Linked DNA regions of Homo sapiens: all the other regions are linked to region 2. Evidence: promoter capture Hi-C in human tissues and cell types (Jung and others, 2019). All regions are on one chromosome and are shown on one strand. The core of a region is centred on a gene start or on the middle of the fragment in contact, and the rest is flanking DNA. Distances in the headings are between cores, read along the strand shown.

Region 1 (3,133 bases), core at 509-3,008, 340 kb before region 2:
ATAATAATGCATACACAATCATTTATTGAGCATCTGTTACATACCAGGTGCTGTGAATATGTTGTTTATGTACACTGACCGGTAGGTTGCGTATGTATACTGTTTATTGTTTCTGCTCCCTCTCTTCCCCTGTGTAAGTCAATGAGAGAAGGGCCTTCATCTTTCTTAATGCTGTCTCCAGCACCTACAGCACAGGCTGGCAGAGAGTCGGCATATAGCATTTACTGGGTGAATAGAAATGCAGTATCTTTTAACCCTCATAACAATCCTTTGTGGTAGGTTTTCGTTCCCATTTCACACAATTTTCTTAAGAGCACAAAGCTAGTAAGTGACAGTGGTCTGTCTGCATTCCACGTCACAATGCAATACTATAATCTCTCAATCTCCCAGAACGAATCTGGAACAAAGGAAAGCAGTAAAGGTCATGTAAACCCAATTTCTGCAAATTCATAATAACTGCATATGAAAATCCAACTGGGTTAGGTGCTGGAGTTAATACAACGATAAACTGGACAAGAATCGGAAGAAAAATACATTTAAGACAAAATCCGTAAGACTTGACGCATAACCTTGCTAGTTCAAGAAGCTCTTTCACACATATTATGTTATTTAACCCCCACAAATAGCCTAACAAGTAGGTTTTATTACCATTCCAATCAGGCTTTTGTCCTCCACTTAAACTGTACTCCCCAAGGTGACTTCTGTGTTGCTAAATGCTCAACAGGTACTCACTTCAGGCACAACATTTAAGGGAGCACCAAAAAACTAAGTGATCAAGATGAATAACATTTTTATTTTTTAAAATTAAAATTAATGCAAAAAAAAAATCCATGAATAACAAAATACCAACATTTAAAATAAAGAGGATTCTCAGGACTGGGCTCGCCTACCTGGATGCCCTAACGGAACTCCTCATTCACAATAGGATTGAATGACCTCGAACTAAAGTGTCACGTACTTCCTGCTCGTGATGCTCGTGAGCCCGAACGAAGGCTGAAAAACTTCAGGGGGAGCCATTCTGCCTATCACCCCTAGTTCCAGCGCAGCAGCCCAGCGTGCACCACGCAGGTGGGAACTGACCCCGTGCTTTTGGAACAGGCTGGAACTGGGGGTGCTTGTGCCTGTGCATGTATGTATTGCACACGTGTGCATGCACGCTTCTCGTCTTGCTTCTATTTCCAAGTCCCAGTTCAGGACAGGGCAGAGAACTGCTTTCCAGTATGCGCCCTGAGCTCGGACTTTGCGCTTGCAGACTGAGGCGCCGGCCTGCATGGGAAGACAGAAGCTCAGAATTCCTTCCTGCACAAGTGGCAGGTGGAGTGCAACTCTTTTTGGTGCCTCAGTCCAAGACAGGGACACGCCATTCCCTGCGAGGTGGCAAAGGTACCTGAACCTACATAACCAAGCCCTTAAAGTCTCCGCGGCACCTCTTAATCGCCTTCCCGTAGCTATTGGAGGTAGAGAAACCGCGGCGGGAAGCGCCCCAGAGAGGGCAGTGGAGCAAGGGACACTGGAGGTGCAGAAGGCGGAGGAGCATCTCCTTTCGCTCCGCCCCGCCTCTTTTCCTGCCTCCGGCCAATTGCCGTGCGCTCCGAGCCTTGACCCCGCCTCTCCCCGCCTCCTCCGGCCTGCGGCCCCGCCCGCGCCGGTAATAATTAGCGGGCGGGCGGGGCCCGCGCGTCAGCCGCGGGAGCCGGCCAATCCAGTGGCTCTCCTCCGCGGTCGCGTCATAGGCCGAACAACCAAACAGAAAAGTTTAATAAACAGCGGACGGAGGGGCCGGCGGTGGCGGAGCCGGAGCAAGCAGGGGTTCGGCGGCATTACCTGTACCCATTCACCGGCGGCTACCGGCGGCGGCGCGCAGCGTGTCAGGCGGAGAGACCCGCCGCCAGGTGAGGAGCGCGGCCCGCGGGGCCCGGCTTGCCCGGCGCTGCCCCTCCCCCGCCTGCTCCCTTCCCCCACCCGGCTGCAGCTAGGCGAGGCCCGCCCCCGGCCCCTCCCGGCGCCCGAGAGCCGGAAGCGGAGGGCGGCCGGCCGGCGCAGCAGGTGGTGGGCCCGCGGGGGCCGCGGGCGAGAGGGCGAGGACTCCCGGCTCCGGGGGTGGGGGCCGGAGATCGGCGGGTTCACCTCAGACGGCGCGCGGGCGCCCGCGGCCGGGGGCCGCTTCCTGTCAGGGTGGTCGCGCTGGGGTCGGGAGCCTCAGTTCTTCAGGGCCGCGGAGGCCGCGACGCGCGCCGCCCCGAGCGGGTTGCGAGCGGTTGGCTGGCGGGGGTCGGAAGGGCCCCGGGCACACTGGGGCGCGTCAGTTCCCCGCCTCCTCCGAGTCTCAGGTCCTCTTCGGGATGTTTTTCCACCTGCGGCGTTTTTCAGAAACCAGCCGGAGGCAGCCCGGTGTCTCCAACTCCTGACTGGCACCGGGAAGGGAATTGGTCTCTTTTTTTCCTGCTTGGGTTTAGCTTGCTTAGGATTCTAAATTTTTTGTCTGCTTTTTTGAAATAGTTATATTTAAGTTTTAGCTACCTAAAAAAGTATGAAAGAATATTGTGTTTGAAATCTTTTTAACTTGGTTTTTAAGTCACGTGCTAACTATCCTACACAGTTGGGACGCTATGATTTACCTTCACATCTCGGAAGTTGTAACCAGTTGTGAGGAAGTTAGGACCTTGGGGTTACCTAAAGATAATTTATATTAAGTTGTTGGGCCATAAAAACTGGGCAGAATTGGCCACGCGCGGTGACTCAACGCCTGTAATCCCAGCACTTTGGGAGGCCGACGCGGACTAATCACGAGGTCAGGAGATCGAGACCATCCTGGCCAACATGGTGAAACCCTGTCTTTACTAAAAATACAAAAATTAGCTGGGTGTGGTGGCGGGCGCCGGTAGTCCCAGCTACTGGGAGGCTGAGGCAGGAGCATCGCTTGAACCCGGGAGGCGGAGGTTGCAGTGAACCAAGATCGCGCTACTGCACTCCAGCCTGGCGACAGAGGGAGACTCCGTCTCAAAAAAAAGCCGGGCAGAATTAATGATTTTGAAGCTCCGAGAAACAGGATTAAATTCCTCTTTCAAACCGAAATCGGAATTTGATTTTTTAAAAGTGTAAAATACCATAAACTTTTAAGGTTAGTTGTTCG
Region 2 (2,900 bases), core at 5-2,504:
TCACTCTTCCCCACTCTACCCCCCAAACCAGAAGAACAGAGCTCCTGTTTCTTCCTTTCCATGGTAGGCCCAACACCTGGCTTTGTGCCTGGCACACAGCAGACATTCAACATTTGTAGAACTGATAGACTATTAGATTAGTAGTGACAAATACTCCCCGAAGAAAATGCTTATTTGAACATACATCCCAAATTTTCTGCCCTCCAGAAAATGCTTCCTTGGAAGGATTTAAGACAGTTTGATGTCTCTGCAAACATTATCTGCGTTTAGGGACCAACTTGCCCTTCTCAGCGTTCACCTGGGATGTCTTTATTCTTCCATTTAACCTTTACAGGGGACCCCGATGGTGACGTGTCCTTCCTAGGGGCCATTACCTCTCTCAGGGATCCTAGTGTCTGGTAGAAAACAACAGCTCCAAGTTCTCTGCATCCAAACTTCGCCAGGATACGCAGATAAACCTATTTAAAAAAAAAAATCTTTTTAAATTCTCAACTTGGTGGTGTAAATAAGGCCCTTGCAGCGCCCTCAAGTAATAATCAACGGCAGTCATTATGGAAGGAGGGTAGAGATGAGCGCCTTACTCAAAGCCAAGACATTCACAATTTCTCGGGCCGGCTGCCTGTGCCTGGGCGTGTGCACTGTGCACTCCGAAGCTGTGTGCGGCGGTGGCCTTGGAGGTGCGCGTGGCCTTAGGAATTCCCGCGGTCGGGCACCCTCCGCTTAACACCGGGCCGTGTCCCCGGCCTGGGAGCCGAGCAGCGCGGCTCTGGCATGCTAAGTGGGCAGCACTGGGGCGCCTTTGTTCCTCGCGGCCGTCTCCCAGGACCGGCTTCCCTCTGAATCTAAATGGGCTTCTCCCTCACCCGCTCCGCCCTGGCCTCCTGGCCTGGGCACGGCGCCCCTGGGTAAAGCGCGCCCGGACACCTGGGGCGTGGGCGTGCGGGGGCAGCCCGGGCTAGGCGAGCGCGGGAGAGGCGCCTGCGGTCCCAGCCCGGCCAGGCCCGAGCACCTGCGCGAGCCCGAGGGAGCGCCCGGCCCTCTGCCCCCGCCAGTCGCCGGCGCCCAACTTGGGGGTCCCGCCGTCCGCAGCCCCAAGTCTCGCGGTGCTACCGCTCTGACCGGGGAGCCGCGGGCCGGGCGCCCCCCGCCGCGCGACAAAGGCTGAACCGGGAGGAGGAGGCCGAGGAGGGGGAGGAGGAGGAGAGAAAGGCGGGGACGGCGAGCGGCCGCGGCGGCGGGGAGAGCGGAGGGAGCGCCGCCCGCCCGCGCCGTCCTTTGTGTGGCGGCGGCGGCGCCTGGGCCTGACCGGGTCCCCGGGGCTGAGCGCCGGGCTCCGCGCCGCCCCTCCCGCGCCCCTGCCAAGCGGGCGCCTATCCTCTCCGAGCAAGATGGCAACCCCGGCGGCGGTCAACCCTCCGGGTGAGTAGCGGCCTGGGCCCCGCCGCCCGCCGCAGCCCGCAGGCCTTGCCCGGGGCCGGAGCGGACCAGGCGCGCCGGGCGCCCCCGGGGGCGCGGAGCCGCAGCTCGGCGCGGTGGGTGGTGGAGCGGCTGTCACTACGCGGCAGCCGCAGCATCAGCACCAGAGCGGCATCTGCATCCCAATCGCTGCCCATCCGGTCCCGGGCAGGCGCCGGTCCGGACCCGCGGGCGGCCGGACGCTGGCCTCGCATCCTCGGGAACCCGAAGGGCAGGCCCGGGAGCCCCCGAAGTTCTGAAAATAACCGCCTTTGCCTTCCCCATCCCACGCATTTTTCTCTTCCGGTCCCGGCTTTTGTGGCATCACGGCGTCAGCCAGTCCTGGCTGGTGGAGGGCTCCGCGCTGACGGAGGGAAAAGTTTGGAGCTGGGATTCAACAGGGTACAACTCCCGGGACTCTCCCCTGCCCGCCCCGCCCACTAAGCGCTGGTCCTTTGCGCCCTTTGCGACTGGCTGCTGTGTGTCCTAACCCTCCGGGGGCACAAAACACCCAGCCTGTGGTCACCAGCGTGGAGCAGCCCTGGTCCTGCCCAGGTGACATCCTCTGCTTTCTGGTCTGACCTGTCCCCAGGGTGCAGTCTGTGACAACTGAGCTCATTAGGAAATATTTCAAAAATGGAAGAGTTCTTGATCAAGTGGCAACATTGACTTGTTTTGGTATTGTAGTAGGGAAGTTCCGTTTTCACTGGGAAAGTTCCCTACCTGATGAGCAGGGTGTGGGAGAAGAGAAACGTGAACATCTAAGCTAGTACAAACTTTTGGGTGTTGTGCAGAGGCTGCTGTGGGCACGGCAGGTTGCTGGGTCCCTGTGGAAGATGCAGGGAGAGTCACAGAGGGCGGCCCCCAGGAAATTCCCAGCAGAGGGAGGTCATGTGTTGGAGATAGGGAGGGTCGGGGGAGGAACAGCAATGCCTAGCAAAGAAAAGTGTCTCTCATCATAGAATTAGGAATGAAAGATCCCTTTCATCTAAGGCGGCCAGGGAAGGCTTCTGGAGATTGGACATTTCGGCTGAACCTTGAAAACGGGAATGTTTGAATATACAGAGCCAGTAGCAGAGGGGCATTGCAGGCGTAAGTAACAGTGGACTTGCTCTAAGCAAGTGCAGAGGTCAGTGAGTAGTTGGTGCACTGGGGATATAAGAGGCAGCAGTGGGATTTAACACTGAGTTGTTTGGATGTGACCAGGCTTTAAAGGACAGACTGAGGAGTATGGACTTTCTCTCTCCACATTAAGGGAGAGTCCTCTGCACACTTCCTAAGAACCAGAAAAATAAAATAAAATAGAAAAGAGAGAGAGAGACAGAGAGAGAGAGAGAGAGACCTCAATGGTATTGAACAAGGAAATCGCATGATCACTTTTTCTGGAAGACTGATTTGTCAGCTATGTCTAGGAAACATTCTAAGGAGGGAACAAGACTTGAGAC
Region 3 (2,951 bases), core at 308-2,807, 390 kb after region 2:
CTGCCTTGTTGACTGACCTGCAGCAGAGGCGGCAGAGGGAAAGTGGGATAAAGGGACAGCATTTCAAGTGAGACTCCCCTTTGGGGAGGAGGGAGTAGTCACCACGAAGGATGCAGATTCAGCTCAAATTTCCTCAAAGCTTAACTGGATGAGATGGATACTCTGAATGCGGTCTGGTCTGCCGATGCCCCCTGGGTGACCTTCCGTAGTCCTCATCTCTTCTCTGCACTGTAGTTGTCATCAGACATTTGGGTGATTTTAGCAAAATAAACCCACCCACAAATATTCTTTTAGTGCCATCCCTGTATGTGGTCTTAAAGCAAATCTGAGTATGCCCACCAAGTAGCCAGAGGAGAGAAAGTCACAAAGGCTGGGTTCTTCCATTCAACAGAAACACATTAAATTCAGATCACCAATATCTCCAAGATGGTTCTAATCAGACAAAAAGAGAGAAATAATGAAGTATTCCAGGAAGGGCCCAGTTAGGTTTTGTTGACTGCAAAATAAACTGTTCTCCATATTCTTTCTCCACCAGTTTGCATGCTGTCTACTTTATATCTTCCTTGGGTTGTAGAATATTAGAGCTGGTGTAATAAACTGGGAAAGGGCATAAGCTTTGGAGCCCAGCAGTCCCAGTTATAAATCTACCTCCTGCACTGGTTAGCTGCTTGACTTTGGACAGGTTACTTCACCTTTCTGTGCCTCAGTTGCTTATCCATCCCCTAAAATAGGATGATTATATATTATTCTGTGTACTATGTGAACTAATACACGGCAACTTCTTAGAGTTATGATCTTGTACATACTAGGTATACAAAATAGCATGTCTCTTCCAATTGTCAATGTAGCTGATTGAATTAGCAGACACTGTATGTAGAGATGGCCATGCTGTGACTTTGGGGGAATTTACAAACTTTAAACCTTTGGCAAGCTATGGGCAGTAGCTGGTCCTAGAACAAGAATCTGAATGGCCAAGGCATGTGCTCTAGTGTTCCCTTGCAGAGATAGAGATTGTGTCTCCTCGGTGTGGTGTCTGTCAAGCTCAACACTCCATGAGATCAGGAACTAGTCCATCTCAGTCACCATTGTATCTCCAGAACTGAGACATTCAGGCATGAATGTTGTCCTGAGAGGAGAGCTACTTACTAGCATTTCCTGAGACCTACTACTTACAGTCACTTTATAAGTGCTTTACATATATTGGTAGGACACAGAATAGAGAAAGGTAGTCCAGGTCTTCTGACTTCTGATGAAAATACAGTTTAAGAAGTGTAAAAAGCAGACTTGCTAGTATCTCTGTGCCCTGGCTCAGAATATCACATTAAGAGGGTAAGCGTTGGAGCTGCAGGTTTTGAGATTGACATGGGTGGCAGCAGGTTGGTGCAATAGTGAAATTTGAAGGGCACAAACTCCTTGCCTAGCTTGGCTGTGTAACCTGTCCAATTATTTGCTTTCATTCAGGACGTCTTTCCCCCTTCTGCTCTCTGAAACTGGAAGATGTTGAGAGGCACATAATTAATTTGGGTGTGTTAGACCAACGCCCTCAAAGTTCCTTATTTACTTGTCATTATGCATAACTACACACATTATCAACACGAGGTTAAGTCTTCTGTGGTGGGTGTTTTTCTCTTACCCAAAGTGAAGGGGAGTGGTTACCATTGAATGGTGGAACTCTGGTTATCACAGCTGGGTTTCCCACAGGTAGGGTTACCCACAAGATCAGAATAATTTATCACTAATTACGGTTTTGGAAATGAAGCTTAGATGAGCCCTTCCTAAAGTGCATTTCTTGGGAGCATCGCTTCCTTGAGCTGTTACTAGATATTCTGAGGTCAAACAAGTTTGAGACAAACTGGGATAAACAAAGTTGACCTGTTTTCATTTTCCAAGATCTTCTCAATGGCTTTGTAAACCAGCATGCACCATGTCTCTCAGGGAGAGGTGCATAGTGTATAGTATCTCCCAGACGTGTTGGTCTAGGGAATTCCCTTTCTATTTTCACAGAGGACTTTCTGAGACTTGGGTGCTGTGGGACCTATGTTGGGGAAACACTGAGCTAAATATTCATTAGTGGGATAGGATGAAAAACAAACACCACATGAAACTGGGCATCCCCGCCAGAAATTCTTAATAGGTGCTCATTACAGTTTTATTAACACTAGGGTCATCTTTGAACTTAAGTAGAATGCTTTTGTCAAGTTGTTTTTGTTATTTATGATTTTATTTTTAGGTCAAAGTGTTGCCAAGTGGGTTCCTGGTTTTGGGGATTTGAAAAGTGGGACAACTTGAGGTCAAAGACCCTCCAGCAGTTTATCTTTGCCTTTCTGTTGTCTGTGATTTTTATCTGGTTTAACCACAGGTGACCTAGTAGTCCCATCTGGCCCCTAGAGAGGGTTGTAGCTTGTTCCAAATGGTCCCAAATCAGAAATTTCTCCCTCACACAAAATAACAGTGAGCTTACAAACTTGTAGTATCCATATTCATATGACTATTTTTTTAACCAGAAGTTTTTCCTTTGCTTGTCTGACTCATTCACTCATTTATTCCCTCATTTAGCAGTTTACTGAAGTCAGCTTATAATATTGCAGAGGCTGCTAGGCTCTGGGGATGCAGCAGTGACCAAAATGAGCTGAGACCTGCCTGCATGGAGATTACAGTCTAGAGCAGTGCTGTCCAGGAGACATACAATGGGTGCCACATTTGGAATTCTGAGTTTTCTAGTAGCCCCACTAAGACAAAGTTTAAAAAGAAACAGGTAAAATTAATTTTAATAATATACTTTATTTTCACCTCATACATCCAAACTATTGTCACTTCAACAGGTAGTCACTATAAAAAGTAATGAGATTGTTTACATTTTTTTATACTAAATCTTCAAAATTGGTATGTATTTTCTGCTTACAGCATATCTCAATTCGGACCTGCCATGTTTCCCGTGCTTAATAGCCACA
Region 4 (3,001 bases), core at 447-2,946, 370 kb before region 2:
AGCTACTCGGGTGGCTGAGGCAGTAGAACTGCTTGAACCCAGGAGGCAGAGGTTGCAGTGAGCCGAGATCGCGCCACTGCACTCCAGCCTGGGCAACAGAGCGAGACTCTGTCTCCAAAAAAAAAAAAAAGAAAATTAAAGCTTCTTTTAGGCCTCCCGTCATTGCAGCAACTGCACTGTCAAAGGTACAGCATCATCATCTGACCCAACAACCTCCAGGTAAGATATAGCAAGGATCCTCAGCCTGGGACTTGGCTCCATCCAATGCTTTGGAAGGGGAATCTGGCTTGACATTACAGGTCTCCTGCAGGCTCCCTCATCACTCTCCGATGATGGGTCTCCTTCCTCAAAGCTCCAGGTCATTGCTGACATTGGTTGACCCTGCTGCCTAGAGCAAACTATGGCCCATGGGCCAAACCAACCATTTTGTAAATAATGTTTTACAATAATGTATCTACAAAATAGCACCTATTTTGTAAATCACGTTTCAATAGAATACAGTCATGCTCATTTATTTATATCAGACCTCCCTCCCCCCAGTTACATTTTGGGTTGTGACAACTGAGGAGTGCTACTGGTATCAACTGGGTAGAGACTAGGATGCTGCTAAATATCCTACAGTTCACAGGACAGCCTTCATAACAAACAATGATCCAGCCTCAAATGTCAGCAGGCCAAGGTGGACAATACCTTGTGTATTGTTTATGGCTGCTTCTGAGCTAAAATGGGAGAGTCGAGTAGATGTGACAGAGATCACATGACCTGCAGAGCCTAAAACATGTTCTATTTGGATTTTGTACTAGTCAGGGTTTTCCATAGAAACAGAACCAATAGGATAGAGAGAAAGGAAGAAAAAAAGAGAGAGAGATTTAAGGAACTGGCTCATGTGATTATGGAGGCTGGCAAGTCCAAAGTCTGCAGGGTGGACTGGCAGGCTGAAGACCTGGGAAGAGCCAAGGTTGCAGTTTGAGTCTGAAGGCTGTCTGCTGCAGGATGCCTTCTTCCTCAGGGGAGGTCAGTCTTTGTACCATTCAGTCCTTTGACTGATTGGATGAGGCCTACCAACATTGTGGAGGGCAACCAACTTTACTCAAAATCCACTGATTTCAATGTTAATCTCATCCAAATGTACTCTCACAGAAACATCCAGAATAATGTCTGACCAAATATCTGGGTACTGTGGTCCAGCCAAATTGACACATAAAATTAACCATCAAAGCCAGGCGCCGTGGCTCACACCTGTAATCCCAGCACTTTGGGAGGCCAAGGTGGATGGACTGCGAGGTCAGGAGTTCAAGACCAGCCTGGCCAATATGGTGAAACCCTGTCTCTACTAAAAATACAAAAATTAGCTGGGCGTGATGGTGCGCGCCTGTAATCCCAGCTACTTGGGAGGCTGAGGCAGAAGAATCACTTGAATCCAGAAGGTGGAGGTTGCGGTGAGCTGAGATTGCATCACTGCACTCCAGCCGCGACAGAGCAAGACTCTGTCTCAAAAAAAAAAAAAAAAAAAATTAACCATCAAAGGCTTTTACAGAAAAAGTTTGTAGAACCCTCGGAGTCCCACCTCACCAGAGCTGAAGACTTGTTGGATTAACCTCATGAGAGGATTTTAGGTGGGCGTGACTTTGGATGTCAAGGAGAATGGAGAGTAAGCTGTGATCAGAACGCTGTGGTCATGCCTCCATGGCTCTAGCTGACTCCCCCAAGGGCAAAGTCCACCCTGACCCTCCCCTATGGACACAGTCCTTAGTTTACAATGTAATTTCACATTTTTTTTTTATTTGAAACGACCCTTTAAGGTAGAGTCCGGGGAGATGATACTGTTTCACTGATAAGCAAACTGAGGCCCAGAGAGGTGAGGTAATACCACACAGGGAGTTCGGGTGAGAATGGTGATCTCCTGGTTCCCAGTTTGGTGTTCTTGGGAATCACAATTCACTCTAGGGTGACCAACTGTTCTGTGTTGCTGTTGTTGTTGTTGTTGTTGTTTGAGATGGAGTCTTGCTTTGTCACCCAGGCTGTAGTGCAGTGGCACGATCTTGGCTCACTGAAACCTCCGCCTCCTGGGTTCAAGAGATTCTCCTGCCTCAGCTTCCCGAGTAGCTGGGACGACAGGCATTTACTACCACGCCCGGCTAATTTTTGTATTTTTAATAGAGACGGGGTTTCACCATGTTGGCCAGGCCAGTCTCGAACTCCCCACCTCCCGACCTCAGGTGATCCACCCACCTTGACCTCCCAAAGTACTGGGATTGCAGGGGTGAGCCACCGTGCCTGGTCCTGTTCTGGTTTTTATAGGCCCAAGAGATTTCCTGGAATGCAGGATTTTAGGTGCTAAAACTGGGGAAATCTGAGGCAAACTGGGACAAACTGATCACCCCACTTTGCCACCTCATGGATGTCTGACCTCAGTTACCCTAGCACTAAGTAGAATTAGCCAGCCAGGAGCTCAAGGCCCTGGGGAGACCCCTCAGTTAGGTGTGATGTGAGCAGACTGCCAGCACGGGCACCAACCGGTGTGTGTCCCTTTTCTCCAAACTCGAGAACAGAAATGTGATGGCAGCTTGAAGGGGGCTGGAAGGAGCTCTAGAACCCAGAGGTGAGACCTGCCTCAGCCTGCACCCCCTTTAGCAGCCAATGCCCCTGCTTGCCCCTAAGTTTCTCCATCTCTAAAATGATGATCTTTGGGTGCACCTAATAAATATTTACATTTTTACATTATACTTTCTTCTAGCACCGGAACTAATATTCATTCATTATCATAGACTTGGGGGGAATAAAAAGAGGAAAAAAAAAAGTTTTAACATCTAAATTTCCACTAATTCTAGTTTTTCCTAGATTTTTTTTCCATGTACAAAATTTATGCTTACTTTCACTCACTAGTGATTATACTATACAATTTTATTAGGTTTTTCCTTTTTTTATAACCTTTTCGTTTTTAAAAAAATTCTTACTAGATTATAAAATTGGTGAAAATATGAAAAACACATGAATAAAA

Evidence for each region. Contacts are between HindIII fragments. The study calls those that stand out against the background at their distance.
Region 1: the fragment with the promoter of ZFAND6 here is called in contact with the fragment with the promoter of ARNT2 in region 2 in 1 of the 25 tissues and cell types used here (hippocampus).
Region 3: a contact is called between a fragment that was not itself captured here and the fragment with the promoter of ARNT2 in region 2, in 3 of the 25 tissues and cell types used here (IMR-90 fibroblasts, aorta and mesendoderm cells).
Region 4: a contact is called between a fragment that was not itself captured here and the fragment with the promoter of ARNT2 in region 2, in 2 of the 25 tissues and cell types used here (bladder and dorsolateral prefrontal cortex).

The regions. Positions count from the first base shown.
Region 1 is chr15:80,057,918-80,061,050 of GRCh38, forward strand. It overlaps ZFAND6 (zinc finger AN1-type containing 6), which reads left to right and starts at 1,759. Exons shown (of 7, transcript NM_019006.4): 1 at 1,759-1,892. RefSeq lists silencers at 1,437-1,765, 1,462-2,331. The HindIII fragment of the contact is 12,222 bases long and covers 1-3,133 here.
Region 2 is chr15:80,403,128-80,406,027 of GRCh38, forward strand. ARNT2 (aryl hydrocarbon receptor nuclear translocator 2) reads left to right here and starts at 1,255. Exons shown (of 19, transcript NM_014862.4): 1 at 1,255-1,419. The coding sequence starts at 1,389. It overlaps ARNT2-DT (ARNT2 divergent transcript), which reads right to left and starts at 1,069. Exons shown (of 6, transcript NR_184070.1): 1 at 864-1,069; 2 at 375-458. RefSeq lists an enhancer at 686-1,186. The HindIII fragment of the contact is 10,967 bases long and covers 1-2,900 here.
Region 3 is chr15:80,791,785-80,794,735 of GRCh38, forward strand. All of the region lies in intron 1 of CEMIP (cell migration inducing hyaluronidase 1), which reads left to right. Among named protein-coding and RNA genes, the nearest start is that of CEMIP, 14 kb to the left of the region's middle. The HindIII fragment of the contact is 5,902 bases long and covers 1-2,951 here.
Region 4 is chr15:80,037,328-80,040,328 of GRCh38, forward strand. No RefSeq gene overlaps it. Among named protein-coding and RNA genes, the nearest start is that of ZFAND6, 21 kb to the right of the region's middle. RefSeq lists an enhancer at 2,382-2,881. The HindIII fragment of the contact is 5,767 bases long and covers 1-3,001 here.